6 separate regions of the Homo sapiens genome follow, and regions 1, 3, 4, 5 and 6 are each linked to region 2. The links are contacts of gene promoters, found by promoter capture Hi-C in blood cells and fetal thymus (Javierre and others, 2016). All regions are on one chromosome and are shown on one strand. The core of a region is centred on a gene start or on the middle of the fragment in contact, and the rest is flanking DNA. Distances in the headings are between cores, read along the strand shown.

Region 1 (2,700 bases), core at 40-2,539, 560 kb after region 2:
CTAGGAGCCCGGGCGAAGCCGCCAGGGAGCGCTGAGCTGGGGCAGGGCGGGGGTCCGCGTGGGCGAGCTCCGGGCCGGCCGAGATGGGGACACAGGTGGGGCGTGGAGAGACAGAGCGGCGGCCACGTAGAGAGGAGAGGAGAGGGCAGAGCTAACCCTGGTAAGTCCCAGATTCTGGTTTTGAAAAACTAAGAGTCCTCGGAGCAGGGGTCTGCAGTCTGGTGAAAGCAGGTTGCATCCTGGCGCCTTGGGCTGTCCAGACCGTGTCTCTCGGTACTCTCTCATAAATAACAATAGAATAATTACGAAGGCGAGAGAGCTTTCGGAACTGGAATGGCCTGAGCATGGGTGAGTCTCATGCAGGGAGCATGCGAGGTCCGCGGGCTGGCAGGGAGGGGTCCCCCTCACGTCTCCACGGGACTCGGCACCATACTGTTGGGGGTGTCCGGGAGCTGCGAGGACAGGGAGGTCACGTCGCTGCCGGAGGAGTTGCCTAGGGAGCCGGACTCGGAGAAGGAGACCTGGGGCGGCGGAAACACCGGGAAGAGGCAGGTGAAGAGGCACGCGAGCTGGTGCTCCAGGGCCGCGTGCTCCGAGTCGGAAAGTGTCCCTTGGGGACCGGCCGCCAGCTGAGAGCAAGCCCTGCGGAGAAGGAGGCCAGGTCCCCAGGCGCACGAGGGGGGGATTAGGGCGGGGGAGCGGGTTGGTTAATCCTGCGACCTCTCTTGTGAGCACTTTAATCCAGGGAGACCTGGTTTAGGGCGCGTAATGGGCCGAGGTGAGGTTTCAGAGCCCGCCACTGTTCCCCCTCCCCCACCGCCTAGGGCTGTACCCAGCCCCTCAGCCCAAGGCCACCCCCTCCCCTCTCTGCCAGGCTAAGTGGCTAAATCCCCAACCCGCAGAGTCCCGAGGTCGGGGCGGGTAGGGCAGGGCCTCACCAGCTGTTGGAAGGCGGGTTGGTCCAGGTCGCTCTGGAGGGCAAACTCGCTGAGCGCCTTCCACGGCGGCTGGTACGTCTGCACCTCCACTGCGCTGCCCTGCACGGCGTTCTCATGGCGGATGGGACTGCCCGCCACCAGGGGCGTCCCAGTCAGTCCCTGAAGGCTCTGCGGGGCAAGCAGAAGGCAGTAGGTGCTCGAGTTAGGTCTGGCCTTTTCTGCCACCTTTGAGACTGGAGCTCCAGGCCTTGAGTGATTTAGGGTCTGCATTGCTTTGCGGGGAGGCGCACACTCGATCGCATCGGAAGAGCCCTCTTTCTCCACTGGGGATCTGCGGGGGCCGCAAACTTGCCACGATAGGTCAGCCTCGGTGCTGGAAGCCAACCGCCCGGTGAGGAAAGGCAAGACCTGCACTCCCACCTTTCTGCAGCTGCCGACGGAGTGCACAACCCACCAGCCCGACTGGCGGGCGCTGCACACTGCCATGCAGCCTTGGGCTCCGCGCAGCGCCCGGAACCCGCAACGCGGGGCTGCCACTGGGACAAGGAGAAACCCCGATCCCAGACAAAATAGGAAGCCTCAAATCCAAGGGAAGCCTTGCTGTGAAGGTACAGACATACACCATCTGGAGCGCCCAGTTCTCCCTGGATCTCCCAGGGCTCGCCCAGAAAAGGGCACGCAGATACCGCGGCGGAAGCGCAGCCCCCACCCGACTCGAGCCTCCGGCCCAGCGGCTGCTCACCGTCTTGTCGCTGTGCTGCTGCTGCTGCAGCTGCTTCATGAGAATGGATTTCTTCTTGTCCTTGCAGCGCTTGTTCTGGAACCAGACGCGGATGACCCGCGGGCTCAGGCCGGTCATCTCCACCAGCTGCTCCTTCATGAGAGCGTCGGGCCGCGGGTTGGCGGCGTAGCAGGTCCGCAGAGTGTGCAGCTGCTTCTCGTTCAGCACAGTCCGCACGCGGGTCGTCTTCTCCGTCTGCTTGTGCACGTGCGGGCGCAACGCGGGCTGCCGGCCCGACCCAGCGTCTGCCAGGACAGGGTGAGGCCAGAGGTTAGCGAGGGGCCGCCACCCACCCGCCCCGAGCCCAACCTCCGGGTGGCCCAGCCCCCCGGGGCCCGATTTCGTTTCTGTTTTATTCTGTTTGTTTCGTTTAATTGTTCGTCTTCCTCTCCATCTGTTCGCCTTACTCGGAGAGAGCTGTGCATTTTCGTTCTTTCTCTCGCTCCCGGGCCGGACTGCCCCGCAGCGATCTCTCCCGAGCTCAAGCAGGGCGCGGGAGCTCGGCGACAGGCCGCTGCGGGGAGGGAGTGGCTGCTCAGGGATGTGCCTCCTCCAGTCGCAGGACCCTCGGAACGAGCGAAGCCCTCCGGAAGAAGTCGGAGTTTCAGAGGAAGAGGAAAGAGGCTTGCCCAGGACTCTGGAGAGGGAAAGGGACCGACGTGGACCCAGGGCGAGGCGCTGCCCAGGGGACTGGGTGGGAGGTGCGAATATGCCGGGGGCCTACGAGGGCCCTTCCCCTCCTTCAGAGCCCATTTGGACAGGGCCAGGCCACATGTGTAGAAGACTCATCCACGGTTATGGACGGGCCTCCAGGGCTTGCAACAGTTCCTTCCTGCCCGCCCTTGGGCTTCGGCCCCTGTCTCCTTCCTCAAGGCTCCAGGTTCCCCAGCCCAGTGGCCTCCCACCGACCAAGGTGCTGAGCAGCCGCTGGCACTCTCCTCGCTTGGCCCCAGGTTCTCTCCATCCCGGGGAAACAGTGAC
Region 2 (2,700 bases), core at 177-2,676:
TGGGGATAATTAAGAAATGAGGCCCTGACCGCCTTTTATAGAATTGTAGTATGCTCCCTACTCTATCCCCCTTATCCTACTCATTTTGTTAACTGTAGTGCTTATCATGTTATATAATTTACTTATTTATTGTGTTTACTATTTCTTGTGTTAAAAGCAAAATATTAGCCAAATTAAACAGAGTTTGAGCAAAGAATTATTCCCGAATCAGGCAGCCTCCTGAGCCAGAGTAGGTTCATACAGACTCCCGCAGAGCCACATGGTGGAAAAAGGTTTATAGACAGAGAAAGAAAAGTGAGGTAGGGAAACAGCCAGAATGGTTATAGCTAGACGTTTACCTTATTTGAACACGGTTTGAACAGTTGGCCGTCTTTGGCCAAAACTTGGTGATTGGCGCAAGAGTAGGTTGCAGTGTATTTACACCTCCATTTAGGTTATAGTTTACTATTTACGGAGAAACCTTCAGGCTGAACTTAAAATATGTAAGGACACAGCTTTTGGCTAAACTTGATGTAACACTTGCCTGGTTTCACCCTGCTCCAAGAAGCCGGAGGTTTTTTAGAGATTTCTGTTTATTTTGCTCACGTATTAACTCCAAGCATCTAGAATACCATCTGATATATAGTATGTGGTCAATAAACATTTGCTGAATAAATGAAAAAGCGAGTTTTCTAAGAAGGCAAGAGAGAAGGGGAGCCAGAACATAGCCATATGGTTCCTGCCCCCACAACGCTTGTGAGTCCAGGACTTCCCGCCTACTGCGGGTGGGGAGGGAGAGGGAAGGGTAAAGAGCTGTTTCCCAGCTGGATGAAAAGGGACGGTGAATATTCGTTTGATAATTACAGTCTGCATTGAATCTTTTTTCTATTTTGTTCAGACTGATTTAAACGTTAAAGTATTTAATTCATCATATGTTTGTCTTTGAAGTAGATGAAACGTATTTGTTAGGTCTCTGTACTTCGACCTTCCAAGCCTGGCACACAGAAGGGCCCTGATAAAGCTTCTCGGAGGCCTAGTTGTGTTCAGCGCAGCCCAGCGTGCTCCTGTCAAGTGCTTTCGCCAGCACAGATTTCTGTGAGGCGCGTCTCTAAGTCCTTAATCTGTGGATTGACTGTGGTGATAAGGCAGGAGGAGGGAAGAGATTGAGTACGAGAAAGACCTGTGTGGCCAAAAGCGGCGGTGTAAGCTTAACCTAGGAAAAGAAACAGCTTCGGAAACGCCGCGCCGGGACATCGAACCAAATCAACCCTCACACCTCCCGCCTGGGCGCCCCAACGGCGCGAACGGGCGTGCGCCTGCGCGCGGACAACACAGATCTTGCAGCCGGGAGCGGCGCGGCAGCGGCTGAGATCACGTGGTGCGCCGGGAAGCCACCCCGCCTCTCCGAGGCCTCCCTGCCCCGCCCCGTCACGCCCCTTTCCCGGCGGGACGCTTTGAGCCGCCCCGAACTAAGCAGGGCGGTCGGGGGTGAGTGTCCGCGAGGGGCGTGCGTAGCGCAGACCCGGGCGGGTCCGGGTTGGGGCGCGGGCCGTCTGAATGCCTTGCGGGGACCAGGGGACAAAATGGCGGCGGGGTACGCCCTTTCACCCCCTCCCCTCACCTGGGAGTGCGAGTTGAGCGGGGCAGGGATCGTTGCTGGGGGAGGGGAGCCGCGGTCGCCTGGGGAGGGCTCGGAGGTCGGCCTCGGAGGCCTCGGGACGGGGGCTGGGGTGAGCCGCGTCCGGGCCCTGCCCTGCGGGCTCATCTGGGGTGTGAGGGACGTGAGACCCCGCACACTACGCGGTCTGAGGGGTGAGTGGGGGGCTGCCGCGTCACCTCACTTGGGGGCAGCCCCGGCCGCGGGTGACGAGGCTTCTGGAATGTCTAAATGCGAGGGGCCCCTGGAGGAGCCTCCCTTCGTTTGACAGGTGATCGTCTTCGTCATCTGTCATTCCCAGCGGGGTTTACCATGCTTTCCCTGTACTCTGATCTTAGCTCTGCCCAGGAAACGGGGCAGGAATGGCCTCTCCGTCTTCCAGATGCGTGCGCTGAGGCCTGGAGGGGCGAAGAGCCTCTCGCACCTGGGAGTAGTGGGACCCAGCCTCCTGCCTCTGTTGCTGCTCTTTTCCAAAACAGCACTTCCTTGGCGCCTTTCCTCTACACCGTTTTCCAGGCGCGTTCGTGGGAACGGCACCAGGGAGGAACGGGATTGTTAGAAAGCAGGCACAAAACTGGTCCTGTAAGCAACACCTGCTGCTGTTAAGGGGGCCCCAGCTGAGATGAGGCCGCCTGTTTGTGAGCAGCTTCCTGTTGCTGGTGGACTGCATCTCTTATTCTAGTTGTGACAAGTTATTTTCCATGAAAATAGCTATTCATTAATAGTCATTTTACCGAACAGATACTAATTCCTTATATGAATTATAGTTTGTCTTAGTTTATGGATTAATTTCATCATTAACTTTTCATCTTCATAAATAATCTGGTAGAAGGATGGATGGGCTAGGAGTAATACTTATTTTATGAATGGAGAAACGGGGGCTCAAAAGGTTATTACTTGCCTTAGATCACCAGCTGGTGAGTGGTAAATCTGGGGTTAAGTTTTCTGACCTAAGGTTGGTAGTCTGACCACTGTCCCACTCTGGCCTATACTGGTGCTCTTTCCCTTCTGTTATTTCTGTTAACTATGACTTTTCCTCAAAGTTTGTTGGTTGCAGATGATTT
Region 3 (2,781 bases), core at 264-2,763, 540 kb before region 2:
TTGAACCCAGGAGGTGGATGTTGCAGTGAGGTGAGATCGTGCCACTGCACTCCAGTCTGGGTGACAGAGTGAGACCCTAACTTAATAATAATAATAATAATAATAATAATAATCATCATCATCATCATCATCATCATCATAAAAAATAGATATATAAGAACAAAGATTGGAAGGAAACACATCAAAATGTTCAAAGTGTTGGGAGGCCGAGGTGGGCAGATCACTTAAAGTCAGGAGTTCAAAACCAGCCTGGACAACATGGTGAAACCCTGTCTCTACTAAAAATACAAAAATTAGCCCGGTATGGTGGCAGGAGCCTATAATCCCAGCTACTCTGGAGGCTGAGGAAGGAGAATCGCTTAAACCTGGGAGGTGGAGGTTGCAGTGATGAGGGATCACACCACTGCACTCCAGCCTGGGTTACAGAGCGAGATTCTGTCTCAAAAAAAAAAAAAAAAAAAAAAAGTTCAAAGTAGTTATGTCAGGGTGGTGAAATTATGAATAATTACTTTCCAATCTTTGTTTTAAACTCAACCTTCAGCAGTATGGTTTTGTTACTTTAAAGAAAGAGGAAAAGTGCCATCAAGGATCACAGATGTTTTAAAATTAAATTTTAATTTCACATGCAATACTTAGTTTCTTTTTTGTAAAAAAAATATGGCTACACGTAGAGCTAAAATTCCCTTTTTGCCAGACTCTCCATACTCCCCTTTCCAGAAAAACACCATTAGAAGGATTTCTAAGTCCAGCCTGAGTGACAGAGCAAGACTCCATCTCAAAAACAAACAAACAAGGAGTTTCTAGCTTATTGCTGAAAGATGCCTTAAAGATAGTTGCTAATGATATATTCTTTCTCTCTCTCATCAGAATTAGGACTATAGGGCAGAGAAGAGTACGCATGTCTAGCAGGGAGAGTAAGGGCACAATTTATAAACCTCATGCTTTATATTAAAAATTCCCTTAAATTCTGCAGTCAGTTTTATAAAGCAGTATTTATTTTAACACAAGAATTAATGTTTTAAATTGCACGAGGCCAGGACAAGGATCATGTAGCCTCAAAACAGTATTTCCCCATGAGTGCAATAACACACAGCACAGATTCAGTTCATTTTCTTGACAGATAACTGACATATTTTGATACTGAGGGGAAAAAAGTGTTGTGACTTCCTTATTGAATATCTCCACTATATAGCAATATATTGAGAAGTTCTAACTCAATTTATGTCCTATTAACTTTCCAGATAAGTTACATGAAAATACACTGAAATTATCAAACAAGAATACCATTTAATTATGGGAAAACAGACCAGGAAAATGAGCTCAGCATTTCCTTAAGAGGTTTAACTCTGAAAATTACAATATATCTGAGGTTGTTATATGTACATTCTTATGTCACTGGCAGGAAAAGTAACAAGCTTTTGGTAAGTTGTTGTTTTACTTCTTGCCAATATACCTTAAGATAAACCTAAAATGTAATGTGTTTGATTCATCTCTAATTCCACTGGCATCTCTGTGCCTTCAGAAATTGGACTCTAAATTGCCTTACACGAAAAAGAAAAGTTATTGGTACTCTCAAGCTCATCATTACAATATTTTTCCACAGAAGCTTCTCTGGAGGCATTTATTCTTACTAGAAACTCTGTCCAAATATTTAATTTGGCCCTGGGTGTTTAGTAACATTAGAATATTTAAAAGACAAAGTTGATAAATTACAATCAAGATGTAGTAATGTGAGCTATGAGGGAAAAAAAGCTTAACTGTGATTTCTACAACAAATTCACTCAAAATTTGGAGACAAAAAGCATCTCAAATATTTGATAAAGGATGATATGCTGCATAAACTACAAGGAGACAACCTGAGGCAGTAGGAAGAGCTCTGAATCGAAGTCAGGAAATCTGACTTTGAGTTCAGGATATACTACCAACTAACTGGTTTCTGGGATCACTAAATGACTCTGGCTCAAGTTTTTTCACCTGTTCATGAAGAACAAAATCAACTTCAAATTTGTTTAGCTGTCAGACTACATAGAATACTGAGAAACAGTATATTTAATTATATGAACTAGAAACACTAACAAACTAGCAGAAAATAGGAATATATTAAAAATTCAATATAAAATCACAACCATAAACATATATGTACACAAACAAACACAGAGTTCTCTAAGCATGGTATGCACTTCTGAATTCTGTTCATATTTATTTGCTATCTGGGAGGGAGTCTCAGTTTATACTGAGGGCTCTGGAGTCAGACTGCCTAGATTCCAATCTCATCTTTTACGTATTAGCTGTGGAACTTGGGCAAGCTAGTCAAAAGCTCCAAACCAAGGTTTTCTTATCCTATAAATGAGAAGAGTAATAGTACATACTATATAGAAGTTATCTCAAGAAGTAATCTGTGTAAATAAAGCAGGTAGTATGGTGTCATCATATAGTAAGAGCCTAATAACAATAATGATAGCAATAATTGCAGCAAGAATTTATTGCTTACTAAGTACCAGGCACTATTTTAAGAGCTATACGTGTATGATACCACTTAATCCACACATCTGCCGTATCAAGTAGATATTATCATTAGCACCTATTTTATAGTGAACAAACTGATCCACAGAGGGGTTAAGTAACTTACAAATGTTTACTGTGATAGTCACTATGGCTATTCAAAAATATTTAGATCTCCTTTCAGAAACATAAGAGGAAACTTCCTCACTGCCTCAGAGAAGACACAAGGACCATGTAACTCATGGGCAATGAAAGTGAGTGACATATGATTCTTCTGGG
Region 4 (2,700 bases), core at 197-2,696, 550 kb before region 2:
CTGGCCCATCCTGTCTAAAACTGCATCCCCAAACCCTTCCTATCCCTTTTCTCCACTTTTTTCTTTTTTTAAACTATAGTTCTTATCAACATAGTATATGTTTTGCTTATTTATCCTGTTTATTGTCTGACTCAACAAGTAGAATTTGAACTTTAAAAGGCCTATGATTTTTATCTATTTTGATCAATGCTTTCTATCTAATGCCTGGAACAATGACACATAGCAGATACTCAGAAAGTTTTTACTGAATGAATATAGTAACTAAGCAGCCTTTAGAAAAGTCTTGGAGAACACTTTCATCTGAGTAGTGAGGTCAAAGGCGGATATCAACGAGGTGAGACATAAATGTGAGGGAAGGAAACAGAATTACAAAGTATAGCCTATTTTTTAAACAGCTCTAAAGAATATTAAAATAATTCATCTTAGGGATTAGCTAGCACTTCAGTCTATTAGTGAACACACTTTCTCTTTGCCAAATAACTTCTAAACATCTAGAAAAGATAAAAATTCAAGTGGAACAGAGATTTTCAAGGGAAGAGGTGGACTACTGTTATTAACCCTTTTCTATATCTCTTTAAATATTTGTCAAAAGATCCCACAGAAAGGAGAAGGGGGTGGGATGGGGAAAGGAACAGAAGTCAGCTAAAGTTACTAAGCATCTTGAATAAAGAACCACATTAAAAAATCTGATCTTTGGGAAAAAACTATTTTAATATCTGTGGTAATTTGAACAGAAAAAATGCATTTGTTTTTTAGAGCTAGCTCTGTGGCAGGTATTTCCTTAATGGTGACTATATAATTTTCTTAACTGGAGTCACCAGTGTTTGCTAGATTCCACATATTGTTGTACCAGTTCACAAAAACCAGAGCACTGCAAAAGATAATTGAATGCAGATTACAAAGTGGTTTATGATGGCTGTCACTCTCTTTGCAAAGTGAAACAAGTGCACCGTCTATTCTTATGATATAAAACTGCCTCTTTAGGACCTCTTACTTTGCTAGAAGCTTTGTTTTGAGGCCTATGGAGAAGTCCAGTGTCCTAAAGCAGCTGCTTACCCAGTGGTAGCCAGATCATTACTCTCCTTGGAACCGTCTTCATCTGCAAAAAGGGGCGGTAGGGTGGAGCTAGTCATCAAGTTTTCCATCTCTCTGAAAGGAAAAGAGAATAAAAAAAAATTAATGGCTTAATTACTTCCATTTCAAGTTCCACTAATTTAAGAGCCAGCCTTCTTGAACTTTATCATATAAGCAACAGAATAAAAACTGACCTAAATATTTATTTTCTTGACTTGGACACATCAATTTAAACTGTATGGTAAATGGGCCTTTTAACCTTGGTCTTATCAACTGACCAGACTGAAAACAAGTTAGGTTTTAACAAATGGGATGTGGTTTGGAAAATTCCTTTTTATTTATCCAGAGTATCTTCAAAAGTATTCATTTCCTGTAGAAATTGTTAAGCAGGGTAACTCAGAAGCACTGCCACTCTGAGCAAGCTATTTAAGCTCTTTGAGCTACAATTTCACCATCTTAGACTAAGACAAAATTGCTGACTTAACCCAAAGGGTTATTGTGAGAGATTAAAATGAAAGTGCTCCATAAACAGAGAAAATCTAAGGTAGTAAGTGCATTGAGTATTATATAAAGAAAGATATTGTTATTACAGCATTACCAGTTCTCAGTCCCAGATGAATCATCTATAGATTAAATGATGGCAAACTGAGCCCTCCAAAAGGAAATAATGCAAAGGAAGTAGAGGATGGAAGGCATGCTGATGTGGCTCTCAGTCAAAGAAACCACACTTCCAGGTCAGAAATATGCTCCACACACCATCATAACCAAGAGCAGAAATAGCATGCACCTGGGTACAGGAAACAACTAAGCTTAATTGAAGAAAACAAACAAATCACAAGAACTGAGGTTATCAGACTGAAAGGATAAAAGGACAAAGTGACAAAGAGAATAATTTCATTTGGCATATCACTATGAAAAACGATTTTTGCCTTTCAAGGCTTACCACAAAGGGCATCACCCCATGTAGTTAAAAGCAGCAGTCTTCCCTTCATCATGAAAGGGATATTCAAACAAAACATTCAGCAGTGACCCCAAACATCAGCCACTTACACAGAACTGCAAAGCACTCAAGAAAGAGTGCCTCAATCAATTGGGAGAATTGAGAAGCAAATTATGAGAATTCACTTAGGAGCTTCCTCAGGAGTTATTTCAGGCGCTGCTGCTGCTAAGGAGACCTGGTGAAACAGCAATTAAAAGGAAAGCACAGCGGCAAAGCAGAGCCAGGATCACTCCACTGAGGTGGAAATATGAAGAAAATGCCGATGACACGAGGACCACATTCTCCATGTTCAATGGAGTGATTTATTTCCAAAAGATAACACTGATGTTTTATTCCTTATTCTTACTTATTCTCACTTCTAAGTTTATTATTTAGCAGGCCAAGTTCCATAAACAGCTTGATGGGAAAAACACATCTCTGTACAAATATTACCCATTACAGTAGGTAGAGCATGGAAGGTAGAGAGGAACTTCTCACTCAACCATCATAAGCACTTTATTCTACTGCAGGAATGCTTGCAACCTCTTTTCAGTTCCTTCAAGATAAGGTGTTTACAAGTGGAATAGCTCTAATAAATACCACAAAATTCCATTCCACATGTTTTACTGAATAACCCTGACTCAAGT
Region 5 (2,700 bases), core at 67-2,566, 580 kb before region 2:
AAGAGGAAACTGGAGTTGAAACAAATCAAGACTTGCCCAATGCCACACAAATGGCTACTTGGAGAGCAGCAGGCTCTGGAAACCAGGTTGCCTCACCCCTAGGATTTTTAAAAGCATAGTAGAAATAGGTGACAAATTTCCTTTAAAAATATTTTGATTAGTTATTTTCAAAAAGCAAGCATTTGGCTGGGCGTGGTGGCTCATGCCTGTAATCCCAGCACTTTGGGAGGCCGAGGCTGGTGGATCACAAGGTCAGGAGTTCAAGACCAGCCTGGCCAACATGGTGAAACCCTGTCTCTACTAAAAATACAAAAATTAGCTGGGCATGGTGGCGTGCACCTGTAATCCCAGCTACTCGGGAGGCTGAGGCAGGAGAATCGCTTGAAACTGGAAGGCGGAGTTTGCAGTGAGCGGAGATCGTGCCACTGCACTCCAGGCTGGGCAACAAGAGCAAAACTCCATCTCAAAAAAAAAAAAAAAAAAGCAAGCATTTAAGCACATCTCCTTTCTTCTATCAAATGATCTTCTATCAAGGGGACATCAGAGTCACTGACTTTAAAAACATCCTTGTAAGTTGTCTTCAGAATACTACTGCTATATTAAAATGAATTAGAATTCACTGTATTGTTACAGCATACATTAAAAGAGCTGACTTCTCAAACCGGTAAAGATACATTTTGAAGTAGCAATTAGTAAAATGAATGTGTTACTGTTTTAAAAGCATAACAGATGTCATGATTAATGTAGAGTTGACAAAGTCTTTAAGAGGAAAAAACAGAAATAGAACTTTTTTATTTATTTTTTATTTTTTTGAGACGGAGTCTCGCTCTGTTGCCAGGCTGGAGTGCAGTGGCACGATCTCGGCTCACTGCAACCTCCACCTCCCAAGTTCAAGTGATTCTCCTGCCTAAGCCTCCTGAGTAGCTGGGACTACAGGCTCATGCCACCATGCCCGGCTAATTTTTGTATTTTTAGTAGAGACGGGGTTTCACCAGGTTGGCCAGGATGGTCTCGATTTCTTGACCTCGTGATCTGCCTGCCTTGGCCTTCCAAAGTGTTGGGATTACAGGCATGAGCCACCGTGCCCGGCCAGAGGTAGGACTTTTTGTTACAAAGCAAGTAAAATTGAAACAGGTGAATTCAACGTAGAAAAGTTTTAATGAGACAAATGTCAAACAAGCACATCAACTTCTTAAAAAACAAAGAAAATCTGAAAGTTTAATTACAAAAACACTTATACAGAAAACTTGGCATTTCAACAGTTCCAAACACATGTACACAAGTTTTTTCTAAAATCAGTCAGAAATAAAATACCTTGTCTCCCTTTCCTCAGCTGCTTCTTGTATTTTAATTAAAAAGAAACAAAGAAATCTGTAACACTGAATAGGCAACAACTTATTTCTTGAGAACATAAAAGTACAGTAATATCTACAGGTGTACTGGGAAACATGAGTTAGGTATTGTGCTAGCCTGTAACTTCATTTACTGCCTCCTCACTGAGCACAGAGGAGAGAGGAGGTGGCACAGACCTGGTCTATAGATACTGACAGTTTTGTGGCATCTGAATCCCAGCCACCAGAGGCAGGTGAGTAGCTACTGGGAAAGACAGCATTTCAGAAGCAAGCTGCTTATTTTGTGAAAATGATTTCATACTGTAGGCTCTCTTGAAATCTCATGCATTCCTGAATATGCAAATGTTTCAAGTCACTGTCAAGTGTCCCATCTAGAGTCAGAAGAATGATGATCCTGGACCATGTTATGGCCTTTTCTGGTCACAAAAGCAGTGCTAGCAATGCTGCACAAAACTGAACACAAATGAGAAACAGAAATATGAGGAGGAAGGAAGACAGGACACAAAGCATCTGGCAGAAGGAAAAAACAAAACTCCAGAATGGGCTCTGGATGTCCTTCTGCCATAGACAGTGAGTTCTAGCTTGGGCTTTGCAGACAAGGAGTCTAAGAGAAGTGGCAGAAATAGCAGATGATGGCAGGGAAATAGGAAAATACAGAAGAGCAAGAGAACTGGCTAGGTTTATAGCAATAGATAATAATGGGGTCTTATTCTAAAAAATTGCCAAGTGATGGTATGTGGGTTTCAGCGCATGGATATTTGATATATGTTCATATAAGACATTTTAAAAACAGATTTTGTTGCTGTTGTTTTCCTTTGGACTAATAAAGAAAACAGGCAAGGAGATGCTGAGAAGACAGGATGGTGTAGCAACATGACAGGTAGTTCTGCCCTATGCCCTGACTTATGGGCATACTATGAGAGGGGCCGCACTTCTATCCACCTGCCTGCAGTGGTGTGGGGCCCAGACAACGGGCTCTGCTTGCTCTGCCTTTGGTTCCAAAGATCTCAGCTGTAACCTTTAGCCTTGTGCTCTGCAGTGTCAAAACAAAAACAAAAACAAAAACAATGAACAACCAAAAAACCCTGAGGTAAGAATCAGAACCTCTCTTTCCTTTTGCTGTTAAAGGAACCAGAAACTGCTAGGCGTGATGCTTGAGCCCAAGAGTTGTAGGCTGTAGTGTGCTATGATAGCATCTGTGAATAGCCACCGCACTCCAGCCTGGGCAACACAGGAAGACCTCATCTGTAAACAAAACAAAACAAAACAAAACAAACAAAAATGAACCAGAAAGTCCTCTTTACTTATGCTGTTAAAGAAAAAATCACTAAGGAGGGGGAAGGAAGGG
Region 6 (2,700 bases), core at 67-2,566, 520 kb before region 2:
TTGATTGCTACTAGACTCCTTACCTTAGAATACTCCCACTCTTTAAACTCAGCTGACCGTAACACAGAAACCAAAAAGACCATATACCACATCCTTGACCTAATCAAGAAGAAATCTGAAGCTTCCTTCAAGGTCATAAGATGTTTTTCTCCTTTGTTAATACCTCTGTAGTCTAAGTATTTACCAAAATCCCTGCTACATTAAGACAAAAACCCAGAAGCTATCCTCATATCCATCCTCACCTGATCCTTAACATACCTTTAGCCCTGTACCTAGCTGCTTATATTTCTCTCTAGGATCTGAGAAAGAATGATCATTTCCTTGCTTTCACACCTCTTGCTTCTTTCTTCTGGCTCCATTCAAAATTCTCTATTCTTCAAGTCTAAGTATCTCTCTCTTTTAGATATAATTCACATACCATAAAACTGACCCCTTTAGTGTATATTTCAGGATTTTTTTTGTACAGTTGACCCTTGAACAACATGGGTTGAACTGCATGAGTCTACTTATATGCTGATTTTCTTCTGCCTCCACCACTTGAGACAGTAAGACCAACCTTTCCTCTTCCTCCTTCTCAGCCTACTCAATGTGAAGATGACAAGGATGAATACCTTTATGATAATCCACTTCCACTTAACGAATAATAAATAGTAAACATATTTTTTCTTCCTTATCATTTTCTTAGTAACATTTTCTTTCTCTAGCTTATTGTAAGAATACAGTACATAGTACATGTAACATATAAAACATGTGTTAATCAACTATTTATGCTATTGGTAAGGCTTCCAGTCAGCAGTAAGCTATTTACGTAGTTAACTTTTTGGGGAGTCAGAAGTTATACATGGATTTTTGACAACACAGGGGTTAGCACCCCGAACCCCCTCATTGTTCAGGTGTCAACTGTATATTAGTATACAAGATATTTTAGTATATAAGGTTATGCAACCACCACCACTATCTAATTCTGGCACATTTTCATCACTTCCAAAGGAAACTCCATACTAGCAGTCACTCCCATTCCCATCCACTAATGTACTTTCTGTCTCTATTAGTTTTGCCTAATCTAGACATCTTAAATAAATGGAATCACATAATAGGTTGCCTTTTGTATGTGACTTCTTTCACTTTAATATTTTCAAGTTTTATCCATGTTACAGCAGGTATTGCTACTTTGTTTCTCTTTGTTGCTGAATAATATTCCATTGTATGGCTATATCGCATTTTGTTTAGTCATCCAATAATTAATGGACATTTGAGTTTGCCTTTTACAAATAAGGCTGCTACAAATATTTGTGTGCAAGTTTTTGTGTGAACATGTTTTAAGTTCTCTTGGATATATACCTAGGAGTGGAAATACAAGTTAAGTGTCCAAATATTTGATATAAAAATCTATTTGGTTTCTGAGTTCAGGTAGCAGAGGGTATCTCTCACAATGCAAACAATTCTATATTAAGCTCTCCATGCCATCCCTACTCAAACACCTACCATCTTCAAAGTCTGCAGATATTAGTAACAATTTACTTTTTTCCAATTAAATTGAGGAGCAGAGATCAGTTCTTACAGCTCCAGTTATATAGGAGGTGCTTAATATATGCTTATCTGACACCCTAAGAAGCTCCCAAATGAGAGAATGATGACTTACTATTCACTCTTTCATTTTATAGATATTTGAGTGTCTAATGTATGATAGCCATTGTGCTGATGCTGGGCATAATTGTGGACAAAAGTTATTGATCAGTTTTGTCATACTCCAAGAGCCAGCTCACGTCCACAAATATTTACTGAATACCTATGATGTGAATGGTCTTGTGCCAGGTATGACAGCACAGAGTGGAATAAGACCTAGTCTGCAGCCTTTTAGGGAAGGCATAAACTCTACCTACAACAACGCAATAAAAACAAACAAGAGGAGCACTGGACAGTAAGTGCTGTAAGAAAGGTATAATGCTCTGGAGAGTTAATGGACAGAACGTGTACAGTTTGGGAGAGTGTAGAAGAGGATGGATATCAGAAAATATTTCTTAAATGTGGTACTTGAGAAACGACCTCAAAGAAAGTGGCATTTTGATAGATGGGGATTCCTAGGAAAAAAGAGTGTTTCAGGCAGAAAATAGCATGAGCAAAAAAAAATATTAATGCTGGGTGCAGTACAGATTTTTTTCCCCCCAGAGGCGATCCCGTTTGGATGTGTAGATGAATAATGTGAGGTATGATCATAGTGTGAAAGGTCATTTTTGGTTTTCGTATTTAAATAAGTTTAGGAGAATGAGTTGAAAGTCTGCCTGTAACAATTCAAATTACCTTAGTGATTTGTGCCAAGATTAAGATTCCTTTTCTTGAAACTTTTCTATTTTGTATATCTTCTAATCATGGAAATTAGTGATTTCTCCTTCCCACAAGGAAAAAAAATTAAATCTTGACAACTGTGTGAGCATGCTGATAGGGGGACAAGGCTGAAGCTCAGTCAGTCTACCACTGCATCCCATACTGTGGGGAAAATGTAAAGCTTAAAACAGACATGTGGGCAAATCACAATAGCCAGAGTAGCAGAAGCAAGATTGGGGGTAAGATAATTGCATTAATGAAGCTTCTGGCACCAGGCATTGGACCAGGAGATTTACATACAACATTCTGATTCCACCAAACAACCCCATTTGGATTTAGGAAAACTGAGGCTTAGGGAGGTCAAATAAATTGCTC

What was found. The method cuts DNA at HindIII sites, captures the fragments that hold promoters and counts their contacts. A CHiCAGO score of 5 or more calls a contact.
Region 1: a contact is called between a fragment that was not itself captured here and the fragment with the promoter of SCAPER in region 2, in 5 of 17 cell types (megakaryocytes, fetal thymus, erythroblasts and 2 more). The highest score is 7.4, in megakaryocytes.
Region 3: a contact is called between a fragment that was not itself captured here and the fragment with the promoter of SCAPER in region 2, in 4 of 17 cell types (non-activated CD4 T cells, total CD8 T cells, naive CD4 T cells and 1 more). The highest score is 5.9, in non-activated CD4 T cells.
Region 4: a fragment that was not itself captured here is called in contact with the fragment with the promoter of SCAPER in region 2 in 6 of 17 cell types (naive CD4 T cells, total CD8 T cells, naive CD8 T cells and 3 more); the score reaches 7.9 in naive CD4 T cells.
Region 5: a fragment that was not itself captured here is called in contact with the fragment with the promoter of SCAPER in region 2 in 4 of 17 cell types (total CD4 T cells, non-activated CD4 T cells, activated CD4 T cells and 1 more); the score reaches 7.1 in total CD4 T cells.
Region 6: a contact is called between a fragment that was not itself captured here and the fragment with the promoter of SCAPER in region 2, in 8 of 17 cell types (non-activated CD4 T cells, naive CD4 T cells, monocytes and 5 more). The highest score is 8.0, in non-activated CD4 T cells.

What each region holds. Positions count from the first base shown.
Region 1 is chr15:76,339,540-76,342,239 of GRCh38, reverse strand. It overlaps ISL2 (ISL LIM homeobox 2), which reads right to left. Exons shown (of 6, transcript NM_145805.3): 4 at 1,681-1,964; 5 at 939-1,106; 6 at 1-521. The coding sequence ends at 405. Among named protein-coding and RNA genes, the nearest start is that of ISL2, 4.1 kb to the right of the region's middle. RefSeq lists enhancers at 1,347-2,102, 2,300-2,509, 2,530-2,599. The HindIII fragment of the contact is 7,335 bases long and covers 1-2,700 here.
Region 2 is chr15:76,904,066-76,906,765 of GRCh38, reverse strand. SCAPER (S-phase cyclin A associated protein in the ER) reads left to right here and starts at 1,426. Exons shown (of 32, transcript NM_020843.4): 1 at 1,426-1,467. RefSeq lists an enhancer at 1,080-1,580 and silencers at 1,321-1,630, 1,641-1,750, 1,771-1,850. The HindIII fragment of the contact is 6,645 bases long and covers 1,189-2,700 here.
Region 3 is chr15:77,440,712-77,443,492 of GRCh38, reverse strand. All of the region lies in intron 1 of HMG20A (high mobility group 20A), which reads right to left. Among named protein-coding and RNA genes, the nearest start is that of HMG20A, 21 kb to the right of the region's middle. The HindIII fragment of the contact is 191 bases long and covers 1,418-1,608 here.
Region 4 is chr15:77,456,853-77,459,552 of GRCh38, reverse strand. It overlaps HMG20A (high mobility group 20A), which reads right to left. Exons shown (of 10, transcript NM_001304504.2): 2 at 1,057-1,149. The coding sequence starts at 1,145. Among named protein-coding and RNA genes, the nearest start is that of HMG20A, 37 kb to the right of the region's middle. The HindIII fragment of the contact is 878 bases long and covers 1,008-1,885 here.
Region 5 is chr15:77,484,043-77,486,742 of GRCh38, reverse strand. HMG20A (high mobility group 20A) reads right to left here. Exons shown (of 10, transcript NM_001304504.2): 10 at 1,140-2,700. Among named protein-coding and RNA genes, the nearest start is that of HMG20A, 65 kb to the right of the region's middle. The HindIII fragment of the contact is 4,491 bases long and covers 1-2,700 here.
Region 6 is chr15:77,424,423-77,427,122 of GRCh38, reverse strand. All of the region lies in intron 1 of HMG20A (high mobility group 20A), which reads right to left. Among named protein-coding and RNA genes, the nearest start is that of HMG20A, 4.9 kb to the right of the region's middle. The HindIII fragment of the contact is 2,385 bases long and covers 124-2,508 here.